Linked DNA regions of Homo sapiens: region 1 is linked to region 2. Evidence: promoter capture Hi-C in human tissues and cell types (Jung and others, 2019). All regions are on one chromosome and are shown on one strand. Each heading gives the region's core, a stretch centred on a gene start or on the middle of the fragment in contact. The rest is flanking DNA. Distances are from core to core; before and after follow the strand shown.

The links. Contacts are between HindIII fragments. The study calls those that stand out against the background at their distance.
Region 1: a fragment that was not itself captured here is called in contact with the fragment with the promoter of GCLM in region 2 in 1 of the 25 tissues and cell types used here (thymus).

What each region holds. Positions count from the first base shown.
Region 1 is chr1:93,358,657-93,365,317 of GRCh38, reverse strand. It overlaps DR1 (down-regulator of transcription 1), which reads right to left. Exons shown (of 3, transcript NM_001938.3): 3 at 1-4,825. The coding sequence ends at 4,679. Among named protein-coding and RNA genes, the nearest start is that of DR1, 16 kb to the right of the region's middle. The HindIII fragment of the contact is 6,300 bases long and covers 1-5,065 here.
Region 2 is chr1:93,904,445-93,911,608 of GRCh38, reverse strand. GCLM (glutamate-cysteine ligase modifier subunit) reads left to right here and starts at 2,179. Exons shown (of 7, transcript NM_002061.4): 1 at 2,179-2,571; 2 at 7,021-7,086. The coding sequence starts at 2,446. LOC124904221 (a long non-coding RNA gene) reads right to left here and starts at 2,017. Exons shown (of 2, transcript XR_007066230.1): 1 at 1,455-2,017. RefSeq lists an enhancer at 1,656-1,815 and silencers at 1,856-2,095, 2,306-2,665, 2,716-2,765. The HindIII fragment of the contact is 8,708 bases long and covers 1-7,164 here.

The DNA.
Region 1 (6,661 bases), core at 666-3,165, 550 kb after region 2:
TTTTTCTAAGTTGCTTGATTTATGGTAGAAACTGATCATAAGTTAAAAGTTTCCTCCTTTTGGATTGCTTGAGCCCAGGAGTTTGAGGCTATGGTGCATTATGATTATGCCTGTGAATAGTCACTGTAATCTAGCCACTGCAATCTATATTAAGAAACATAGGCCGGGCGCAGTGGCTCACGCCTGTAATCCCAGCACTTTGGGAGGCCAAGGCGGGTGGATCACGAGGTCAGGAGATCGAGACCATCCTGGCTAACACGGTGAAACCCTGTCTCTACTAAAAAAAAACAAAAAAAATTAGCTGGGCGTGCTAGCGGGCACCTGTAGTCCCAGCTACTCAGGAGGCTGAGGCAGGAGAATGGCGTGAACCCGGGAGGCGGAGCTTGCAGTGAGCCGAGATCGCGCCACTGCATTCCAGCCTGGGTGACAGAGCAAGACTCTGTCTCAAAAAAAAAAAAAAAAAAAAGAAAGAAAAGAAAAGAAAAAAGAAAAAGGAAACATAGTGAGACCCTGTTTCTTTAAAAAAAAAAAAAAAGTTTCTTCCTCTTATTCCTTACTTTCTCTTCTCATTTATTTTGAGGAAATAGGATAAGAACCAGTGGTAATACTTTAGGTGAAAGGAGGCTACTTATGTTATCATTCTCTTCACCCTGGCCGATCCTAACCATGACACTTTATATCCTGGGGGATGGTGAAAAACAGAGGAGGTGGGGTAGGACTTGTGGTCAAATTGTTGGGGACAGAGGCAAAAAAGAAAACAGCAACAAAAAAATACAAATGAAGAAATTGGAAGGCAGTGCCTATGCCATCTGAATTGGATAATTCTTCCTAATGGCCATTTGGATATAGATGAGTTGGACAGACATAATTTAGAAACCTATATAAGGAAATATCATGCATTTTAATGAGGTTATAACCCAAAATTTAAAATTCAATTAAAAAATTAAATCACAGATTTTCCCACAACATACTAATTCAACATACTACTTACGATTACTTAAAATTTGCATTTTTTCTAAGGAGCAATAACCTAATGAGTATGTAATACTAATGTGTCAGTTAATAAGGGCAATTACTTTTGCTCTTATTTTCCTGTTATATGAAATTAACAACATACCTGCTGCAATATAACTCATTTGGTACAATTTAGGTGTTTCGAGAAATTCAACCCACTAAGATCATTAGCGTAATTCATTTTTATGCTACACATTAAAATGGTGCCTTCTTACAGTCACTTTGGAAAACTGTTTGACAGTAAATACTAAAACTGAAAATATACACACCCTACAACCTGGCAATTCCATTCTTAGGTTTATACTCAATGGAAATGTATACACTCACCAAAAGACATGTATAAGAATGTTCTACACAGTACTATTCATAATAGCTCAGAATTGAAAAATTCTCAAAAGACTATTAATGGGAGAATGAATAACTTTTGGATGTAATGAAAAATGGATAAACAAACGGAAGACTATACAGCAATGAGAATGAATGAACTACAAATACATGCAACAATAAGAATGGATCTCACTTTGGCAGGTTGAATAACGGCCTCCAAAGATAGCCAGCGTATGAATCCCTGGAACCTGTGAATGTCACTTATATGGCAAAAGAGATTCTGCAGATGTGATTAAATTAAGGATCTTGAGATAGGGGGATTATCCCTGCTTTATGCAGGTGAGCCCTAAACTTAGAGGCAGGGAAAGATCTGACTACAGAAGAGAAGATGATATAATGACAAAAGCAAGCTTTGATCATAGAGAGGAAGGGGTCACAAGCCCATAAATACAGGCCGTCACTGGAAGCCAAAAAAGGGAAGAAAACATTCTCCCTCACAACCTCAATAAAGAGCCAACCCTGCTGATACTTTGATTTAGGCCTAATGAAACTGATTTTTGGACTTCTGATCTCCAGGACTATAAAAGAATAAATCTGTGTTGTTTTAAGTCACTAAGTTTGTGGTAGTTTGTTACAGTGGCAACAAGAAACTAAAATATTCACAAAAATGATGAATGAAAAAAAGTGTATTATGTATGATTACATTTACATAAAATAAAAAACAGGCAAAACTAATCTATGATTTTAGAAGTCAGGATAGTAACTTTCAGCAAGAAAGAAGACAGTGTTAAGATGGGGAAAGAGGAGGGCTTCTGGGGTACACATAATGCTCTGTGTTTTGATCTGAAGACTAGTATGTGAGTTTGTTTAATTTGTGAAAACCTTTATTTGTGTACTGTTTTGTGTGTGTGTGGTATATGCAGTTTTAAAAACTGATGCCTTTTAAACACTTACTAATCTGATAATCTGCCGAAAAAGAATATATAACATATATTCAAGGGGATGGAAAAATACTTACTGAACAATAATTTTATTTCTCAAGAACGCTGAAGATTTTGTTTCTCTCTTCAAAAGATTTAAAAAATTTTAACTGGCAAAACATAATAGTGACTCTTAAATGCTAAAAAAAAAAAAAAAAAAAAAAAAAAAAGAAAAAACCTAAAAATAAAATATTGCATAAGTAAGCTTTGTTATGCCTCGATCTTAGGACTGTAAATTATAAAAATACAAGTAAAACCACATTTTTTGAAATAACAGTAAACAAAAACAAAAGGCAGGTACTACATACCAAATGACCAAAATGTCTTTTGGGCCTAAGATTCTTGAAAATAGTAAAAATGGTAATAATAGAAATCTCTCTATAGAACATTAAATATAAAAACCATTTATAAAACACATCACAATTTTATTGCTTGAAGAATACAGCATATGAAATCACAAGAATGTCAAAATGAAAAGTCACTAGGCTTCAAACGTATAATACATTATCAGATGCAGTAAAATATTAACCTGAACTCTGCATCAGAAAAAAAAAAAAAGGTGTGGAAAATATCTAAGTTGTTTACTTAAGAAACAGATATACTTAAAATAGAAAGTATAAGGATGTTACAGTACAAATTAGAAAAGCCAACACGTATTAACTTATCGTTCTAGACTAGACTACCTTTGGTACTTAAACTTTTTAAAAAACAATTTCTTCTATCTCATCCAAATGCACTTCATGGGTATGACATCCATGAAGTAACTTCAACTTAAAACATTCAGCAAAATTAACCTTTTCACTTCATGGGGGAAGTATATTTAATAAATGTATAACAATATTTCCCTTTTACTAAAACTGCAAAATATGATCATTAAGAAACCTAACAGTTATAAAACTTTACTTACTTAGCTCTCCAATTAAAATTGGAATCCTGGGAGCCACAATCTATTTTTGGGCTTGGTGAATACATAAGTTTAAAAGATTTGGCAACTGACATAGGAATTTAATTACTTAATACTATCTTAAGTGACTTTTCCTTTCTGTTTCCAAAATATAGACATTATGCCATTTCTTCAACATCCTGGATTCCTATAAACACTACCATACTGTATTTATTAGAACCAAATTAAAGCTTCTCTAACAAGCAGGTAGAAACTATTTATGTTCCATATACGGCTGATAAGTTATAACACAACTTATGTTTCATATAGGGCTGATCAGTTAATTCATATAGGGCTGATCAGTTGTAACATAACTTCTTAAGCAAAACTAATCTTTTTTTTAAAGCTATCACTCAATTATGGAGACAATAATGTCATCTCAAAAGGTAATGTTGGACTCTAGGCCATCTAGTTGGGAAAATGTAAAAGTAATTCTAAAAACAATAAGTAAACTATAACTACAAGTTAAATTAAAAATCCCTCTCTCATAGCAAGCATGCTCATTAACTTTCATTTCTTTCCCCCAGCAAAGGTTTGAATATTCATAAACCTCAGTTAAACCAAGAGAACCAATGTAATTGTTTCAAAAGTACCACCTATATATTTGAATAATATGAGTATGGATGGACTAGGTAAGTAATACTATCAACAATTACTGAATTGGAGTGAAAGAGTAAAAATCATGACAGACTTCCAAACTGGGCAGTCTTTGAAATGTCATAGTGGAGCTCAAAATGAATTATGCTGTAATAAAACTATAGTTTTTACCTCTACACAAAACAGAAACAAAATAAAAAAACATAACCACCAAATTTATACAAATACTATTAAACATACTCCTTCCTAGTTTTTGAATGTCTTGAAGTTTTTCTAAACAAGTATATTGATCTGAGCATATATATTTATTGCCTATATATGTACTCATTTTAAAAGACAAATTCAGATACTACAGAACTGAACTCTTTCACCAACCCAATCCAATGTCTACTGATTCACACAGCACCCCCCCCTTAATAATTTAAAATTCACAAGTTTTAGTTTAGTTAAAAGGGCAGAGGAAATGCAAATGCAGATTTAGAGCTTTGTAGAAATTTCACTGTATTTTTATAAACTTGAAGTTATCTGTAACACTGTTTATTGATCAAACGAAGGACTCGCTGCTATCTAAAATTTCATAAACACCATTAAAAATTCAAAATTGATATTATACTGAACCTTAAATTTTCAATAGTTCAAAGAGACAGTTTTTACATGTATAGCACACAATAGATGAAACTTAATAGCAGACATCCCTAGAATACCAATGACAAGTCCACCAAGATGCATACAAAATTACAGATAAGCATTTCTTTCACTGTTTTTGTTGTGCAGGGAAAAACATTTATAGAAGAAATAGAAACTCAGCTGGTGAATTTCAGATATCATCATCATCTTCTTCATCCTGAGAAGATCCCGCCTGATTAGATGCACTGGCTGAGGCAGCAGCAAGCTGGGCTTGTTGGGCAGCTTGCTGCATTTGAAGCCATTCCTGTTGGGCCAATTCTGCTTGTTGCTGTCTAGCCTAAACACCCAAAACATAAAAAAAAATAACAATTTTTTACAAACCCACAATATATACACTTTGGTTAAATGTAGATTAGGCCAATTTCAGACAGTTTATTATCATACTTGGATACTGTCCAAGTACTATGTAATTGTCACACATCTGGAGAACATAAACTCTATAGGTAAATATAATTAGAGATTGCTTTTTTCTAACTACACAGGTCTAAGAAATTTCTCAAACTTGGATCTCTTATAAATGGCCCTGTTTTATTTCACGTAATTTATGACCTTTGATTCAACTGAAGAAGTTGAAAAAGTGGAACCAATATTGTGAAAAACCCACAATATTCCCTCTGGCTCTTTCCCTCTTCTTTTCCTTTCATTTCACTTGACTCTTCTGTACCCTCATATTACAACTTTGATACAAACATTTTTCAATCTAAAATTTATTTATATGGTTTAAAAGTTCTCTAGTATAGTACCTCTACCTCATAGGAAAGAAGTACTGTACATGTATGCAGTAGCTACCCCATTATTTCTTTCTGAGTTTCTATTACAATTCCCTAACCTACTATATGCCTATCTCTCTGTGTCCCTCATTCCCTCTCTGTAAGTACACACATTTGCATATACACACATACAAATATACATATCCTTCCCGTATACACACTAGTAAAAAGATACTACTTAAAATCCATTCATCTGATATATCCTCTATTAAAAACAACCACAGGATTTAAGAAACCAGGATGCATACATTATTAATTACCTATGAAACAGCTAAGGCTCCTTCACAATTTAATTTCATCTGTTTGCAGAAAAACCACACCAAGAAGGGAAAAAATGAACCTGTTCTTAAAAAGGTCTTACAATTTCCCATTAGACTCTGCCAAAACAATCCTTTTCTCCTTCTCTGTCTGTTCTTGGAATTGTTCTTTAAGTCCAACTCAGACCCTCCCCTTTATGCATAGCTAATTCCTAGTCATCATCTGAAATGCAAATCAGCTAGTCTTTCTTGACCTTTCCAAGCCATATTTTATGCTCTATTTAATATACCATAATTCCCTATGCATTCCCATATCCATCCACTTTGTTCTAGAATTATCTAAGTTTATATCCTTTTTTTCCACCACACTTGAGAATAGAGATTGTTTCCATATTCTTTGTTGCATTCCTAACATAAAGGCCCTCAGTATTTTCTGAATGAACATGCTACAGGAAAACAGTGATGCCCAGCATAACCAGTAACATTTAAGATTTTACCATGTACAATCCTCACTCTTCTGAATAATCTGTCATGACTTTATTATCCAAACATTTCTAGATATAAATTCTAATCAGGTCACTATTTCATTTTTTTAAAAAAAATCATTTGTTATCAATCAAATCCAAATTTCCTAGCCTAGAGTTCAAGGTCTTCCAAATTAGTGTCTACCCCAACCTCTCTATAGTCTTTTTTTGTAACATGTACTTTGTGCTTCAAAAAAGCCTAGAACACAAAATGTTTCCCAAATATACACCATACTTCCTCATCTTTGCTACCTTTACTCATGCTGACACTCATCCTATGTGAAATTTCCTGCCACTTACTGAAATTCTACCCTTCCTTCAAGTCAAACTGAAATACTATTTTCTCCTCCTGGCATCAGTCAGTGTATAATCAAGAGATAGATGTCACATGAGTTACTGGAATGGAAAAAATTTAATACGAAGAATTGTTAAACAAGTATAAAGTTGTTATTAGGGAGCTGAAAAGGCAGGAAGAGAACATGAAGATGTCATGAAAGTAGCAGCTACAGGAAGCAGCCACCAACCCTAAAACTGAGGGAATAAAGGAAAATGCTGGAATTTT
Region 2 (7,164 bases), core at 930-3,429:
AGAACTTAAATTTACAAGAAAAAATCAAACAACCCCATCAAAAAGTGGGCAAAGTATATGAACAGACACTTTTCAAAAGAAGACATTTATGCAGCCAACAGACACATGAAAAAATGCTTATCATCACTGGTCATCAGAGAAATGCAAATCAAAACCATAATGAGATACCATCTCACACCAGTTAGAATGGCAATCATTAAAAAGTCAGGAAACAACAGGTGCTGGAGAGGATGTGGAGAACTAGGAACACTTTTACACTGTCAGTGGTAGTGTAAACTAGTTCAACATTGTGGAAGACAGTGTGGTGACTCCTCAAGGGCCTAGAACTAGAAATACCATTTGACCTAGCGATCTCATTACTGGGTATATACCCAAAGGATTATAAATCATGCTACTATAAAGACACATGCACAGGTATGTTTATTTTGGCACTATTCACAATAGCAAAGACTTGGAACCAACCCAAATGTCCATCAATGATAGACTGGATTAAGAAAATGTGGCACATACACACCATGGAATACTATGCAGCCATCAAAAAGGATGAGTTCATGTCCTTTGTAGGGAATGGATGAAGCTGGAAACCATCATTCTGAGCAAATTGTCGCAAGGACAGAAAACCAAACGCTGCATGTTCTCACTCATAGGTGGGAATTGAACCATGAGAACACTTGGACACAGGGTGGGAAACATCACACACTGGGGCCTGTCATGGGGTGGGGGGTTGGCGGAGGGATAGCATTAGGAGAAATACCTAATGTAAATAACGAATTAATGGGTGCAGCAAACCAACATGGCACTTGTATACATATGTAACAAACCTGCACATTGTGCACATGTACCCTAGAACTTAAAGTATTATAAAACAAAAAGTATAGACAAATCTTATTCAATCTTGAGTTCAGAAGATAGTTATATCGGGTTTCATTATAGTATTCTTGCTATTTTTGTATATGTTGGAATTATTTACAACAAATGTTAATTGTATGTTACAGTGCATCAAAATGTGTTTAAGTAGTGGTGGTGCTTGTGGGTAGCTCTTTCACTATAATAAAAAATCAATATCCAAAAAAAAAAAAAAAAAGCAGCGCAAGCTCGTTCAATGAACTCTTACCATCATTCATTCAGCCAACAAATATTTACTCAACATCAGGCTCAATTTCTAACTTCCTAGAAAGATCTTTTTTCCCATCCCTCCCCTAATTCTTACCATTTTACCAACTGGTTCATCTCTCTTTTCAATAGCTATATTGTCCCCGCTTATAATGAGAATCTCATTTTGCCTTTAATAATCTGATTCACCTCAACGAATGTGAAAGATTGTTGAGGAAAGCTCAATACATGTTCAATTTGATGTTTATACCGAGTCCACCACCACACGTGAAATTTAATAGGGGTAAATAATCTCGACCACCTCTAAAGGGGTGGGTGATAAAAGCTTTCTGTGATCTCACCGGCTCAAGTGTCCTCTTTAATCTGAATTCATCTGGAGAATAACTGCCCTATGATGTTCTTATAAAATTACTTGTTTCCTGTGCTTAGAACTTGTCTCTGGGTAGAGTGTACGCGTCTCAAGGGCAAAGACTCAGTCTTGTTCGTTGACTTCACACACTGCCAGCAAATAATGTGAATCAATAGACCTTTAACGGATGAAGAAAAATTAGCAGTTTGGGAGAAGGTCCTTGAAGGTAGCAAAGCGAAAAGAAGAAGGGGGCGCTTGCGCATAAACAGCTGCTTCTGAGAACGAAAACTACGTAGCATTTCCGAGTCCCGGTGGCCGCTCAGGCTGCCCTTTAAAGAGACGTGTAGGAAGCCCACCCTGGGGCGGCCGTGGGCGGAGCCGCGACCTGAACGCCGGGAGACCTCACCAGGCGGAGGCGGTGTCTACCTCACCAGGCGGAGGCGGTGTCTGCCTCGCGCTGTCCTCTGACCGCCAGGGGGAGCCCTGCCGCGCGCTGCGCTCCGGGCCGCGCCGCCACGCTCTCTCGACCCGCGCGCCCGCCGCGCACCACCCGTCGCCACGCCCGCCGCAGGCCAAGGGCCAGTCACTTGCGGGCCGGCGTCCCGCAGCCCATTCGCGCCCCGCCCCTGCCCCGCCGCGGGATGAGTAACGGTTACGAAGCACTTTCTCGGCTACGATTTCTGCTTAGTCATTGTCTTCCAGGAAACAGCTCCCTCAGTTTGGAATCAGCTCTCCCGCTGCGGCCGCAGTAGCCGGAGCCGGAGCCGCAGCCACCGGTGCCTTCCTTTCCCGCCGCCGCCCAGCCGCCGTCCGGCCTCCCTCGGGCCCGAGCGCAGACCAGGCTCCAGCCGCGCGGCGCCGGCAGCCTCGCGCTCCCTCTCGGGTCTCTCTCGGGCCTCGGGCACCGCGTCCTGTGGGGCGGCCGCCTGCCTGCCCGCCCGCCCGCAGCCCCTTCGCTGCGCGGCCCCTGGGCGGCCGCTGCCATGGGCACCGACAGCCGCGCGGCCAAGGCGCTCCTGGCGCGGGCCCGCACCCTGCACCTGCAGACGGGGAACCTGCTGAACTGGGGCCGCCTGCGGAAGAAGTGCCCGTCCACGCACAGCGAGGAGGTGAGCGTGGCGACACTCGCCGCGGGGCTCCCGGGGCAGGCCTCGGGCGGGGCCGGGCGGTTCCGGCAAGGGAGAAGCGCCCGCGGGCGAGGGAGGGTGGCAGGGCCTCGCGCGCACCTGGGCTCCGCCCGCGGTCAGATGCTGAGGCCAGTGTCGACGCGACCTTGGGTCCAAACCCGCTGCCGAGGGCAACGCGTCTAAAAAACTTAGCCGGTGCAGCTGCGCACTGAGTGACACCTCTCTCGGTGCTTAAGGCTGGTAGCAAAACTCTCAAACATCCTGGGTCCCTCTTCCTGGCACGGAGGTCACAGAGGGCCAGGACGTCGCTCCGTCTCTCTCCACATCTCTCGCTTCCTTCCCCCACCCTGTCCAGGTAAAGGAATATTTTCGGAGATTATCCTTTGGTGCATTCAGATGAAGTAGTATTCATAGTACACCTAACTTTTAGAATGTTGACATTAGACTCTCTATTGCAGTGAGGCAAATGAGTAAGCACTCAATTTTGGCTTTGGAATACCCTAAATACCCTGACTTTAGTCATTACACATTTTATGCACTTATCTGTGCGTCTATGTATGCTTTATCAGTACACATTCTATGCATGTAACAATATCATTGTACATTCTATGCATGTAACAGAATATCACATGTGCCCCATAAATATGTACAAATATAATCTATCAATTCAAAAATTAAAGTTTTGTAAAAACTGGAAAATAAAAAGACTAGTCACTAGTTGGAGGTGACAGAGATTAATCTGGAATTACAAACTTGTTACCTATTTGTTGGCCATTTCTGAGCGGATAGTCATCCACTGCACATTGTGCATATTGGTGGTATGGGACAATTTTAGTATTTAAAAAATAACAAAATCTTTAGATTTAGGAGCTATATGACTTTGGAAAATTACTTTAAAGTTGGATAATAACACCTTCCTCATCAGGTTGTTGTGAGAATTAAGAGGTAATATATGAAAACGCTCACCATGCAGGCATCTATCTCCCTGTCATCTGGTTCCATCAGAAAGATAAATCTTAATTAAGAGAAAAACCTTCCTAAACTATGTGTGTTTAGAAAAACCTTCCTAAATCAGCTGTGTTCCTAAGTGGTTTCTGCTCTCTTCTATGAGATGTTGGTAACAGACCATGCAGCAGCACACGGCATCCCTCTGAGTTAAGTGCTGGACCTGTGCCCAGGCCTGTTGTTGGGGTCAGTGCCCATCAAGAGATGAGAACTCTTGCTTGTAACTTTAGTAGGAATCTGAGTCTGTACCATATTCTGTGTTCACGTTCCAGCTCAGTGTGTATGTTTTGTTTTATTTAAACCACCTACTTTGGCTGTTTCTCCCACAGATAAATATTTCTGTATTCGGTACATAGACTCTTAATTTCTTCCAGTACTGTTGGTGGTAGTTCAATACAGAATTTTGCACGTATATTGATATTATTGGGTGAAATTTTACCTATCTCACAATAGCATACTCTAAAGTAGTGACTCAAAAGAGTTTCTGACTGCAAACACAGTAAGAAGTACATTTTACTTTGCAATCCAGTTAATAGTTGTATAATCAGTATATCTGAAACAGGTTTCACAAAAAGATATTAGCCCTTATACCGTATATTCTGATTTTTTCTTTTATTTTAATTTTTAAAATGTTGATTTCTTGATGCTCAGAGTCACACACCACAGTTTGTAAAACATTGTTCAAAGGACTAATTCTGGTTTCTAGTGTTTTATTTAGGGTGCTTCATAACAGTAGGATAAAACTAAAGAAACTAGAAAACATTTCAGGAAAACTTGAAGGAATGGCATCATACTGTAGGGAAACTATGACTGCTTGGTAAGAGCAAAAGGGGAGGCACATTTTGTTTCTATGTAAAAGAACTTTGTAACACCCAGAGCTCCAAATTGGGATGTACTACTTGGAACAGTTCCGCTTCACTGAAGAAATTAAGTAAACTGAACAAATCACTTATTTTTGAGAAAATGTACGTGTTGGGTCAAGAGTTCAGTTAAATTTCTTACAAGGTCTCTTCTAGTTCTAATTTTTTAAAAAATGTTATGACCTCTGCCCAGATTTTTTGTCTCACTGGAATTTTATGAAATCAAATAGTTTGTAAGTGGACCATTATAGGACTGTTTTGCCCAGTTCTTTGTTGTAAGGGTGTTTGACCGGTTGAATCATGGTATTTAAAAAATTCTTATACAACTCCAGATCTAATGGTAGGCTAAGTTGTGGTGATGCTTATACTCAGTGATATTGGGTGTGTATTATAAGAATGAAGAGAGCGGAGAACAAACATAAACATTAATGTTAATGACAAACATTAACCCAAGTACAAGGTTAATGTTTAGTCAATATAGCAAACATGTAATTTACAAGATTAAAAATAATTAGGCTTGTGATAAAGTCAATGAATTTCCTACGTAATTGTAACATTAGACTGTTTTATTATTTGTCCTGACATTTTGCAGAATCCAAGATTAATTAAAGAAATGGTTTCAAGAAGAGGGTGAATACTATAAAAATAGACTTACCTTCCTGAATTGAGGAATTCATCAGGAAAGCCTCAAGTGTGCAAATGAGCCATCCTTCCAGAGGGAAATTTCTTAGAATTATCCCACGATTTGAGCCAAAGCACTTCCGATAGAATTTTTAACCTCTAGTTGGTTCTGCTCCTTCCATTTTTACTAATTTTTAAGAAAATACTATGACTTATAATTGTATCTGGAATGATTATCAACTCCTTTTCATCCACTGACTTAAATTTGATTATAAATATGCTTTACATAAAGATCTAGACCTTATAATTTGAATTCAAGTGAATTGTTGTGACTAGCATGTAAATTATTATTATGGATTGTAAATCTTAACATAGGTAGTTCTGTGCCCTTAAATTGATAAACCAGTTATCTCTTGTAATCATGTGTACTAAGATATACGTAGTAAAGTGATTGTATCAGTTTTTATCATAAGCAGTCATAGTTCAGATAGTTCAGAAGTTTAGTGTCTGCTGTTTCTATTAGGAAAGTGCTTTTGCAATTCAGGGGCTTGCCTCTAGTTACTCATTTGTGTTTTCATTGATTGCCCACAGAAGAATGCAAAACACTGTGTCCTTGGTTATCTAATAAGGCAGTGATTTCAGATTGCCAGGTTTGGCCCATTAGTGGTCATAAATCAGTTCAGTGAGTCATGGACCAGTATATTTTTTCTAATTAATATATTGGAAGCCATTAGAGTGCCTGGCATGTTGTGAGCATAAATACCGCTTTATGACTGTTTTGTTCCATTATATGTATATAGGTCTTTGCTCACTATGTGAATGTATGTCTTACTTTGGACTACTATCAAATAAGTCTGAAATACACTTTAATAAAGTATGTTTGAATTAATTTACAACATACTATAATATTTGTATAAATTTTTTTTTGTTTATCTAAGAAAACATGGAAGATAGGTTAGAGGTGCACCTAAATGTTACGAAATGACTTCTGGAGTGTCATACAAGTTGAGTTCTGCAAGATATGTCTATCCTGGTGGTTCTCAGACTTTAGAGTACGTAGATAAAGTACTCTCCTTAGGATGCTTGTTAAAATGAAAGTCCAAACTGCTCTTGGAGAATGATTCAGTGGGTCTAGGATTAGGCTCAGGAGTCTGAAATTTTAATAAACAGCACAGGTGAATCTGAGGTAGGATTTACCAGCCACACTTATTCTCTAATAATTTAATTTGTTTGTCTTTGAGAAATGTAGCATAGTTGTGATATGAATTCTAGTCAGACAGCCTGGGCTTGACTCCAAGTTCCTTTGTTTATAAACCTTATTTTTGTTTCTTTATGAATGCCTTTTTTTTTTTTTTTTTTTGGAAATAGAGTCTTGCTCTGTTGCCCAGGCTGGAATGAAATGGCATCATCTCAGCACACTATAACCTCCACCTCCTGGGTTCAAGCAAAATTGTCCTGCCTCAGCCACCCGAGTAGCTACTACAGGCTTGCACTACTAGGCCCACATGATTTTTGTATTTTTAGTAGAGACAGGGTTTCACCATGTTGGCCAGGCTGGTCTTGAACTCCTGACCTCAAGTGATTTGCCCCCCTCAGCCTCCCAAAGTGCTGGGATTACAGGCATGAGCCACTATACCTGGCCTATGAATGCTTTTGTGTCTCAACAGTTAGCTTAAATTTTCACTGGTACAAAAAAAGCTTTAAAGTAATTAGACAACTTCTTTAGTTCAAGAACATTTGAGAAACAAGAGTAGGATGAAAACAGGCCTGAATTTATGTATGTTGAAGGAAACAAAAACCTTGTAGGATTAAAATTGGGGTTTGTATGGTATTTCCTGTTGCTATCTTTTTTTTCCTGCTTATCAAATTAATATATTCTTATTGTAGAAGTACAGAAAAGTATATAGACTTTGATTAACAGTTTCAAAATGCATTCCTTTTGCAGCTTCATGATTGTATCCAAAAAACCTTGAATGAATGGAGTTCCCAAATCAACCCAGATTTGGTCAGGGTAAGTGAAATGTGAATGCAAAAATCATGCAGGTCAAAAAGGAAGTAAAGTAAACAGGAAGTTAATTTCTTCAGTTTT